2 separate regions of the Homo sapiens genome follow, and region 2 is linked to region 1. Evidence: promoter capture Hi-C in 16 types of primary human blood cells and fetal thymus (Javierre and others, 2016). All regions are on one chromosome and are shown on one strand. Each heading gives the region's core, a stretch centred on a gene start or on the middle of the fragment in contact. The rest is flanking DNA. Distances are from core to core; before and after follow the strand shown. Region 1 holds the start of CD1E (CD1e molecule). Region 2 holds the start of OR10T2 (olfactory receptor family 10 subfamily T member 2).

Region 1 (5,776 bases), core at 759-3,258:
CTGAGACATGGCACACAAGCTGCAGACGGCCAGGGCCAGGACTGGGGCCACAGGACAGCCAGGCCTCTGGCTTCACTAGGAAGAAGAAGATAGAAAAAAAATGGAATTTTGAAGGGCACCCCAGGCCAGAGCTCAGAGACTCAGGTGCCTTTGTAATAATACTAAGAGTGATTTAGTAATCACTTCTTTCTCTTGTCTAAGAAACAGTCCTGAACCCACACATCTCATTCTCTAGTCTCTCACTATGTCTTTCAAAATGATGATGAGAGGCAAATTCAAATATGAGAGTTATAGTACTAGGAACAAGAGGGGAGAGAGAGAGTTGGGCTCACCTTTCCGTTTCAGTTCTGACTCCCCTGCTTCCATGAGCCCCGCTAGAAATCGAGGGCAGGTGTGACCAAGAAGGCTTTGCAGTATTTCCTTAATATCTAGGTAGCGATTGAGCACTTTACAGATGTTCTGGGCCCGGATCCCTGCTCCTGGAGATGGCTCCCAGGAAATTCCTTGGAAACTCAGGAAATCTGACCCTTGATATGCCATATTTAAGAAGATTTGTGGGGCATTCATTCTACAGCCAGCTAATATCTGGATCTCGAAGGGGTCTGAGAGTGGACAGGGAAGAGAGATCATTATGGAAAGAATGACAAGGAAGAAAAACAAACAATTTAGACAGTAAAGAGATTCAAGGGAAGAAAAATTTGCTGGGAAATCATATGGAGACTAGAGTTTACTGGCAAAGGGGAAGAAAATTTGTGGGAAGAAAATTTGAAGATAATAAAGATACTTTGAAATAACTAATGGGAAAGTGGTAGATGGGAAGGCTATCAGGAAGATAGGAGATTGGTCATAAATAATTCACGTGAAAGTGGTTAGGTACAGGCCAGTCCATGTCAACACTCAGGCAAAGGATAAAGAAGGGCAGAAAGAGGGTTGAGAAAGGCTGAGTCTGAGGGCAGGAATGAGGGGCAGAAGATCCAGAGGAGACAATCATTCCAAAGAGCCAGACATGAAGCTATATTCATGTTGAGATATGTACATGCAGGCCCTTTTGTGTATATGGTGGAGTGTGGGTGGTGGTGAAGGGTGAAGCAGAGGAGGGAGTGGGAGTCAGAGAGTGGGGAACAAGGTTAGTAAGGTTAAATGATGGTCAGAGTCTATATACTATCTTCCACTTTGGAAAATAGTTGGTGTTCCCAGGCAAATTATCAGCTTAGAGCAACGAACTTACATTCAAGCTGAAATTGACCAGCAGAAGCTTGCACTATCTGGATAAAACTATGGAAGTATAACTGGAACAGTGACTGTAAGTTTTTCAGCTCCTGCTTGCTGAAGTTTCCATGGGACCAGGGCTTCAGAAAGCGGATGGTGCCCAAGACAGTGTCCCAGCCATGAGTCTGCAGGTCACCCAGCCATCCTGAGCCCTCACTGTGTGCCCAGCTGTGGTTGGCAAAGGAGGAAGTTTGGAGCATGCGGAAGGACAGCTGCTCCTCTGCTGCTAGATGATAGGATTGTAGAGCCTGGGGAGCTGAGAGAGAGGGAAATGACAAGTAGAGAGAATGTAAAGGGATGGGAAAAGTGATGCCAAAGGGAAAAAAGGAACCCAGAGATGAGAGACAGTTAGGTAGCTTGTACATACTCCAATACCCTTTTCCTGTGGGGCCAGCTTCCTTTCTCCAAAATCAGAGACAAAAACTGAGACTGAGAGCAAGAATTCTCTGCCTGGAACTAGCCTGAAAGGCATATTCCAAGGGCATCCTAGAAGAGTACTGCTCCCTTCCCCCAGGACCTCCCCAGAGCTTCCTCTCAGCCCTCTGGTGCCCTACCATAGGTATCTTTCCACCTGCACTCTTCTTACCTGCTGTATTTTCCCCAGGACAGCAGAGACCCTCGAAGAGGAGGAACAGGAGCAGCATTGAAGCTCTGTTAAAGGAGGGATTCCTTGGCAGGACACCTGCCCTAATAATTCAGATATCAGTACCCCTCTCCACACCCTCTTGCACTCTCGTCTGACTTCCCTTGCTGTACAGACAGACAAACCTCTCCCTCTGCTGACTTCCCTGTCAGAGAAGCCACACTGCCTCGCTTTGCTGCAGCCTCCCACGGGGTTTTTCATTTCCCCTCTGCCTCTCTCACTGTCTGGCTCCAGATTTTCTCCCTGCTCTTGTGTACATCCTCCCAACCTCCCTAATTGCACTAACTGCTGGAAAACGAGTCCTGGCTTAAAACAAAGTCTGTGGTCTGGCTAGAAGATGGAGTAGCTTTTGGCCTTGTAGAAATCAAATCCATACTTGGCTTGTCAATAATCTAATCTGTGAGAAGTGATGGTAGTCACTCAGTGGTGCCTAGTGACCTATCCACCAGTCTCCCACTTCTACCTCTCTGTGATCCTCTCCTCCGCCTGTATCTCTTCACTCTGCTCTTGATCATGATCAGAAGACACTCAGCATCCTGGATGTAGCTGCATAATAAGCAGGCAACCCTCCATAATCCAACTCTCTGTGCTGCTGAAAAAGGAGCAGCAATGGCAATGCAGATTATCAGAAAATCTAAAGAAAGCTCCTTTTTTTCAGTTTCCCCAGTCAAGCCAACTGTCACTGTTAAAGTGGTCCATGAGTGGGCTTGACCTGGAAGTGGTGAGCTAGAGGGCAGGTAGATTTCACCCATGTTTTACAGGTGGCTCTGGAGGAAATACATAGGGGACTTGGATCCCCATCTCTACCCAAACGAAGAAAGCATGTCTGGAAGTCTGTGGGCCAGCTTTGCCCTGGGTATGAAGAAAGACTGAGGGCAGGCATGAAGCTCCTCATTAGTTCATGGCCTGAGAGCATTGGAGTCCCCTTGCTTGCGTTCGGTTAGAGAGCAGTTTGGGTGGACACAGGGAAGTACCTTTAGAGGACTGAAGTGTTCACTGGAGAATTAATTGAGTCTTTATTTTTGTTTCTTTTTCATTGATATTTGTTGTGACACTCTGAAGGCAGTTGAAATAACATTCCTTTGTTTGGTTTTTATATATTTGTTCAACTGACATTTATTCAGAGCCCACCTATGACCAAAAACAATTGCCAGGCCCTAAGATATCAGAGATAGACATCTTTGGGAAAAAATAAAACAAAATTCAACCCCAAACCTCTACTTTTCTTATACAGTAAATTTACTGAACGGTGGTCAGAATTATTGAAAAAGGTCCAAACCTAGTTTCATCTTATTATCATTTCTAAATTCTAAGTTAAAAGAAAGATAAAAAGTTTCCTTGTTTCCTGAGTAGAATATCTACATTTATTTTCAATACTCTTTCTGTGCTGGAGAGGTGCTGGAGAGGATGTGGAGAAATAGGAACACTTTTACACTGTTGGTGGGACTGTAAACTAGTTCAACCATTGTGGAAGTCAGGGTGGCGATTCCTCAGGGATCTAGAACTAGAAATACCATTTGACCCAGCCATCCCATTACTGGGTATATACACAAAGGATTATAAATCATGTTGCTATAAAGACACATGCACACGTATGTTTATTGTGGCACTATTCACAATAACAAAGACTTGGAACCAACCCAAATGTCCAACAATGATAGACTGGATTAAGAAAATGTGGCACATATACACCATGAAATACTATGCAGCCATAAAAAATGATGAGTTCATGTCCTTTGTAGGGACATGGATGAAGCTGGAAACCATCATTCTCAGCAAACTATCACAAGGACAAAAAACCAAACACCGCATGTTCTCACTCATAGGTGGGAATTGAACAATGAGAACACATGGACACAGGAAGAGGAACATCACACACCGGGGCCTGTTGTGGGGTGGGGGGAGGGGGGAGGGATAGCATTAAGAGATATACCTAATGTAAATGACGAGTTAATGGGTGCAGCACACCAACACGACACATGTATACATATGTAACAAACCTTCACGTTGTGCACATGTACCCTAGAACTTAAAGTATAATAATAAAAAATAAATAAATAAATAAAAATAATTAAAAAAAGAAAAAAAAACTGCAAACAAAAAAACAAAAGAAAAAGGTCCAAACCTAGTTTCATCTTATTATCATTTCTAAATTCTAAGGTTAAAGAAAGATTAAAAAAAGTTTCCTTGTTTCCTGAGTAGAATGTCTACATTTATTTTCAATACTCTTTCTTTTCTACAAATACATTCAAAGCTATAAGTTGCTATGTAAATCTATCTATAAATCGCTATGTAAATCCAAAATTGGTTTCATAATAAAATTATGAACAGTAAACAAAGATAAATATTCAAGAGAATATATAATAACCTACAAAAACAATAATACATAATAAAAAGATTGGAATGACCTATGCCAAACATCAATACTACAAGTAACTGTATTCCTTAGAATTTTTGTTTTGTTTTGTTTTTTCCTGAGACGGAGTCTTGCTGTCTTGCTCTGTTGCCCAGGCTGCAGTGCAGCCACAGGATCTCGGCTCATTGCAACCCCCGAATCCCTGGTTCAAACGACTCTCCTGCCTCAGCCTCCTGAGCAGCTGGGATTACAGGCAAGAGCCACCATGACCATCTATTTTTTGTATTTTTAGTAGAGACAGGGTTTCTTCATGTTGACCAAGACGGTCTCGATCTCCTGACCTCGTGATCCACCCGCCTCGGCCTCCCAAAGTGCTGAGATTACAGGCGTGAGCAACCGTGCCCCGGCCATTAGAATTTTTGAATCAGGCCAGGCACGGTGGCTCACACCCGTAATCCCAGCACTTTGGGAAGCCAAGGCAGGCGAATTCGAGACCAGCCTTGCCAACATGGCGAAACCCTGTCTCTACCAAAAAAAGTAAAAATTAGCCAGGTGCCATGATGTGTGCCTGTAATTCCAGCTACTCAGGAGGCTGAGGCAGGAGAATTGCTTGAGCCTAGGAGGTGGAGATTGCAGGGAACTGAGATTGTGCCACTGTACTACATCCTGGGCAGGAGAGTGTGACTCTGTTTCAAAAAAAAAAAAAAGAGGGAGAATTTTAAAATCATTTGCAAAGTAAAATAAAGCAAAGTATATTTAGAGAATAAAACAATGTTGTTATTCCACAAAAAATTGCACTTTTATGTAAGTAAAGATAACCACACCCTAGTTTTTAATTTTGAGGCTACAGAACTCACAGATAACTGCAAATTACTGAGCAAAGTAGAAATAATGTCTGACAGCAACCCCATAATCATTAACAAAATAATGAAATTCCTTCTAAATTAAAATTATCCAGAAGATAAATTCCAAAGAAAAAATATATATTAATTTTAATTTTTGTAACATTATATGGTACAATTATTTCCTTCCTGCTTTACAAAATTCCATCAGTGGGCCAGGCACAGTGGCTCACTCCTGTAATCCCAGCACTTTGGGAGGCCGAGGCAGGCAGATCAGGAGGTCAGGAGATCGAGACCATCCTGGCTAACACGGTGAAACCCCTCTCTACTAAAAATACAAAAAAATTAGCAGGGCGTGGTGGCACGTGCCTATGGTCCCAGCTATTCGAGAAGCTGAGGCAAGAGAATCGCTTGAACCTGGGAGGCAGAGGTTGCAGTGAGCCAAGATTGTGCCACTGCACTCCAGCCTGGGCAACAGAGAAAGACTCCGTCTCAAAAAAAAAAAAAAAAAAAATATTCCATCAGTGCCTAACCACATTTTTTACTAAAAATACTTAGTGTCTGTGGCCAGAGGTCTCTTTTAAAAAGAAATTCCCCCTCTTATGTTTTCCTGAGGCTGCCCCAGTCACATTCGCAGATCCCCTTTTGCCAAAACCAGAAAATTCT
Region 2 (5,863 bases), core at 1,969-4,468, 48 kb before region 1:
TTTTTTATTTATTAAACCAATGTTGACACATTATTATTAACCTAAGTCCATATATTTTACATTTGGGTTCATGCTACATATTTTCAGAACTGCAAAATGTCATAGTCACAATTAGAGTATTATACAGAATAGTTTCACTGTCCTAAAAATGCCTTGGGCCCCATTTATTTTTCCCTCCCCTCCTTCTCTGAATCCTTGGAAAACACCAGTGGTCATTTTATTATTTCAATAGTGTTGCTTTTTCCAGAATGTCATGTAGTTGGGACCACATAGTATATAGGCTTTTCAGACAGCTCTTTTCCACTTAGCAATACACATTTAAGGTTCCTCAATGACTTTTCATGGCTTGATAGCCCATTTATTTTTCTATTTATCTGTTCTTTCACCAATACCACACTGTCTTGATTACTGTAGCTTTGCAGTAAGTCTTGAGGTCAGATAGTGTCAGTTCTTCAACTTTGTTCCTCTCCTTCAATATGTTTTAAAATGTTGACTTTATTTTTATTCAGATAGGGTAAGACCAGCAGATAGAGAGATGACTGCCATTGAAAGATAGTTGATTACTTAGAGTTCCTGAGTGCCTGAGTGGGAAGGTGGCATATCACGCCACACATGAAGTGCCATGGGGAGAACACCAGAGCACAAAGTTCAGTTGTAGGCAGAAAGCAAAGGGAAGTTTTGGAGAGTCTTCAGAGTGGTTTTGAGGCAAAGCAGGGTAAGTGGTTTTGAGCAGGTTTAGAATTGGATAGTTTAAACAGTTTCACTGGGTTCCAGGACTATCCTTAGTTGTCTGACACCTGGCCCCAGGGGGATTAGGAAAAGGAAGTAGTGTCCCTCAGTCCAAGAGCATGCAAAAATAGGCAATTGTGGGTATGACTTCTGGATGTGTTTGACTGCACATGAAATTAAATTCATTTTCTATCTCTATGAATCTGCTAACCCTAGGAGGGCTGCTTTTTTCCTGGTCAGGAAGGTCCAGATGTCAAAGCATCAAATATGGGAACTAGAAAATCTCTTTAATATCTAATTTTTGACTCCCCCATTTGTTAGATTCTGGTCTTTAATTTCTGTCAGCCTCATCCTGTGATTCTCTCAAATCAACAGCTTGAGTTTGTAATTTCATACAGGTAAATAAATGTCCTCAGAATAGAAGCAATTTCCAGTGTTCCTCTGTGGATTTTATTTTCTTCAGATTTTGGCCTAAAAATTCCTACTATACCTTCAACTTGTCAATAGGTTTCTAAAATTTTTTAAAATTTTTCCCAGCAATTTTGTTTTCAGAAAGTTTTCTCATGTGACCAGCCAAGCCACTACAAGAAATAGTTCTCAGTCTTCCTCCTCACTCCTTTTTCCTTTGAGTGTCCTAGGCACAAAACATTCAGTATTGACTTTTTATTCCTAATTCTTATATTTCTACTTGGCTTATTATTCCAGAATGTTTTTATTCATGAAGTCATTTGCTGAATCTCGGCCCTGGCTGTGGTCAAGGCAATCCCTGCTGGGGGTGCTCATCCTTGTAGCTGCCCTGTTGTTAATGTCACAATAACACTGAACATCATTTTACCTCTTATTACACATAGCTCTGCTTACATCTGTCTTCTCTACTAGAGCAGATCAATTCATACATTTTATCTTTGTATCACTATAATGTCTCATATCCTGCTCTCTAAATCATGGTACTCAATGAATGGTTCCTCGATGAAAGTCATTTCCTTACAATAATTCCTAGGACAGAATTAAGAAATCCAGTTATTTGAATTTTTTCCAGGTTTTGATTTAGGAGAACAGAGACTACTTAGGTAATTCCCAAAAGTGCCAAGCAACCAGCACTCACCAACCCCTGCCTTCATCTCTTAGGCCTTATCAAGGCAGTTTTATTGTATATCTCCTGGTTGGAGAATTTGGCTTCTCCTGGCATTTCAACATTTTGTAGTCTTGATGTCAGAAAATCACTAGAATACTTATCTACACTTGTAGTTCTTTGCAGAGATGGAATGTTTTATTGCCATTTGAATTTTTTTCTTCTGGTATTAAATAATATGTCCTTGTTCAAGGTTAGTCATTTATTTCCTCTCTTGTTTTAGCTCTTACTAAGTCTCAGAAGGCCTTACTCCTTAGAATCCCAGAAGGCTATAAATACTCTCAAATACAATTATATAGAATCTGAATTGACATATTAATATAAACCAGACTATTTTCAGCTCTTATTTAAGACTTAAAAAGGTTTGGACAACTAAGTCTCCATATAAGCCCTTTATGAAATGCTTCAGTGCATTTTCTTCCAATTATTTAATCTTCTGGGACAGATGTCATTGATTTTACAACTGACTTTCTGCTGCCTCTTTCAATATTTAAAAGACCTACCAGAGTATAAGTCAACAAAGTCATATGGCAGCTTCCTTGATCTTTTGAACATAAGTAGGTAAGTCTATTTTCTTTGTCAGTTACTATCTAAAGAAAGAAATATTTTCTACCAAAAATTCAGGTGTGAATTCATTAGCAGTTTTTATTGTTATAAAAAGGATTCTGAGCCAAAGTAAAACTTTATTTGCTCTTTTCTTGAAATGAAAAAGCTTCCACTCTGCTAGAGTGCACACACACAGATACAGACACATATACACACACACACATATACACCCACCCCATCTTAATATATCAAATTTAAATGCTGAGATGTCAAGCAACAGAAGTAACTAGAAAGGCAGGAAAACTCAGCAGTGTAGATTTCTCCTTTTAAAGTAAAAGATGATTTTGAAAAAAAATAAAAATTTAAAAATAATACGGATTATAGTAGAACAAAGAATATATTCCAGAAAAAAATAGCAGATGAGAAAACTCATAAACAAAAGAAGAATGAAATAAACCATGCCATAATTTATTAAGTATTTAATTAGTGTCTGTTGTGTGCCCAGTATTGTTTGCAGCTGCTGCGGATTGTTTAGAATACGTTGCTATGCCCCCTGCCTCAAAGAAAGAATGTAAGTAAGGTTATGAGGCATCCACATAGGCAAATTGGTTATAAAGTAATACAAGATATTACCTAACCTGTTCCCATACATGCATGATTTTAAAGTCCCTAAGGGCTATGAAGAGAATGAGCATCTGTATGGACTCTAGTAGGCAGGGAAGGTTTATTGGAGAACATGGGACATGACAGGGATTTGAATATGAAAAACAATGGGCAAAACAAGTATATGAAGCAACCTGAAAAAAGATATAGAAGCAGTACTAGTGTTGAGGACAAGATTAGAGGATATTTTTTATTTAACAAAATTCTCATGAAAGTCACAGAAAAAGAAGCTAATGATTTAGGGAGACATTGCAATTTGTTTGGTTCATAAAACTGTGATTGAAATTAAGCAACATCCTCTTGACCTTCCTTGCCTTTGAGTGTTTTCATCAATCATATCGTTGATTTGCCTACTTTCCTACCCCTTTTTCCTTTTTTTCTTATCTCCCTAATATTAAGATTAAAGAGAATAAAGCTCATATTGTAAAATTTGATAATTCAAAAACTTGGATAATTAAAATTGGATTATTCCAGAAAAGTCAGAAATGTTCAAATAAGTTTTACTTGAACAAGCAGTGTGGAACTATGCTTTCATCCCTTGGAAAAAGTATATGAGCAGATCATCTTCTCACAAGGTAAAGAATGGGTGCCATAAAATTTGGTAAGTAGAAAGTGGATTTGAAGTTAGAAGACTTGAATTCTGATACTGGATCTACCACTTGAGCATATTATTTAATTTTTGACATTCTAATCAAGTCAAAATATTTGAGCACATGATAAATCACAAACTATGCTATATTCTAGGGACTCATTTTTTAATTAAAAAAAGTTATTCCTGCATGTGAGAAGCTTATAATCTATAAAGAGTGCCAAATATATAAAGAGGTATGTTCAATGCAACATGTTAAATGCAAGGATGAGGATGTTCATGGGTTACTCTGCCCAGGAGAGGGCACTTAGTACACTTGCCTTACCCGTGAGATAGCGACAGACACTTTTGCTATCTACCAGGATGTTAGAGTCAAAATGAAGTAGCTTACATGAAAGCATCTTATTTTCCGCAAGGTCTGAAACAAAGGAAAAAGCTGTTGTAGCAGGTGTGTGGAACTACCTAAGCAAATAAACCACAACAGAGATGATGAACAATGAACAAACTCAAGTGTGTCATGTCAAACAACTCCTAACATCTTATAGCCATTAAAGTAGCCAACAAGTTGGGAGATGTTGAGTTGTGCAAATATTACATCTGGTTTCTCCTGAATCTCTGAAGCTGATTCTGAAAGTAAAAATGATTAGGGCTCTGGGAGGAGGAATAACCTAGACTATAAAATAATGGGAAGTTCCTGAGATAGGCTCTTCTCTTTCCATTTAGCACTTTCTGGCTATTTTATTTGCAAGAGATTCAAGGTGTGTTCACGTTATTTCCTCTCCTTTCTTCAATAGAGAGAAGACTTAACCTAAGTCTTCCTGCTCCACCCCTATCCCTAGTGATCATCAATCTATTTTGTTTCATAGACAGATACATCATAACCTTGTGACCCAGGTTTTACACTTGGGTCCCTTCACAGTTCCAGAAACATACAGAACAAATGTCATAGAATCATGAAAGAGAATTCAAAGGCTATAGACTCCTTAGATAAAAAAGGGCAGATTTATTAAAGAACCCTGATTTAATCATCCCACAATGTATACATGTATCCAAACATCACATAATACCCCATAAATAGGTATAATTATTAGTTGCTAATAAAAAATAAATTAAAAAGAAAATAATTTTTAATGTAAAAGTAACAGTTCTTTCTTTAACTGTGCATATTTAAATTTTTGCTCAATTTTAAAAAAAGAATCTCAAGGATAAGAACACTTGAGTCAAATGCAGGGAAACTCTGTCCTGATTTAAGGATCCAGGCTCTTCTAGTGTTCAAATATCAAACCAGGATATTTGCCTCTCAACTCCTTAACTGCATAAGCAGCTGACACATAGATTGGAGTTACTATGTGTTAAGTGCTGTTTCAAGTACTTTACTGATACCATCTAAGTTCTTACAACAATCCTATATAATATGTTCTATTATTATTTATGTCTTACAAATGACAAAAATTGTCACACTGAAGTTCATAGCTCTAAGTGGCAAAGGCAAGTTTCAAACTCTAGCATTCTTGTTCCTGAGTTCATGCTCTGAGGCACAGTGTTTTAATGCCTTTACAATAATGCTAATTAAATGGATTGTGATATTAGGAAAAGAAACCAAATTACTAGGATAGAATATACATCCAAGGACCAAATACATACAGTACAAGAAAAATAATTTAAATTTTCTATTCCATATTAAAGGTAATGTTCTTCTTAAACTGAGAGAATTTTTTCACTTTGTCAAATAGTTGGATCCTTTTAACTTTGGGGTATTTATATACTGTAGATAATCATTTCTCTGTTACTTCAGATTAATAATTTTTTGGAAAAATCATTAAAGAGGCATCTATATCTAGATAGACTAAGAGAAAGAGATGTTAACATTATGAATCTGACAATATACTTAAAGTGAAGGCGTTGGGAAAATGTTCGTATTACAAAGATAGTTATCATTTTGTCTCTTTCAAACACATTCACAGAAAGAAGTTCTTCAGATGCGAGGTTTCAACAAAACCACTGTGGTTACACAGTTCATCCTGGTGGGTTTCTCCAGCCTGGGGGAGCTCCAGCTGCTGCTTTTTGTCATCTTTCTTCTCCTATACTTGACAATCCTGGTGGCCAATGTGACCATCATGGCCGTTATTCGCTTCAGCTGGACTCTCCACACTCCCATGTATGGCTTTCTATTCATCCTTTCATTTTCTGAGTCCTGCTACACT

Evidence for each region. The method cuts DNA at HindIII sites, captures the fragments that hold promoters and counts their contacts. A CHiCAGO score of 5 or more calls a contact.
Region 2: a fragment that was not itself captured here is called in contact with the fragment with the promoter of CD1E in region 1 in 1 of 17 cell types (fetal thymus); the score reaches 6.8 in fetal thymus.

What each region holds. Positions count from the first base shown.
Region 1 is chr1:158,350,126-158,355,901 of GRCh38, reverse strand. It overlaps CD1E (CD1e molecule), which reads right to left and starts at 2,008. Exons shown (of 6, transcript NM_030893.4): 1 at 1,856-2,008; 2 at 1,229-1,525; 3 at 333-602; 4 at 1-75. The coding sequence starts at 1,913. The HindIII fragment of the contact is 6,143 bases long and covers 1,258-5,776 here.
Region 2 is chr1:158,399,242-158,405,104 of GRCh38, reverse strand. It overlaps OR10T2 (olfactory receptor family 10 subfamily T member 2), which reads left to right and starts at 5,639. Exons shown (of 1, transcript NM_001004475.1): 1 at 5,639-5,863. The coding sequence starts at 5,639. The HindIII fragment of the contact is 1,286 bases long and covers 2,576-3,861 here.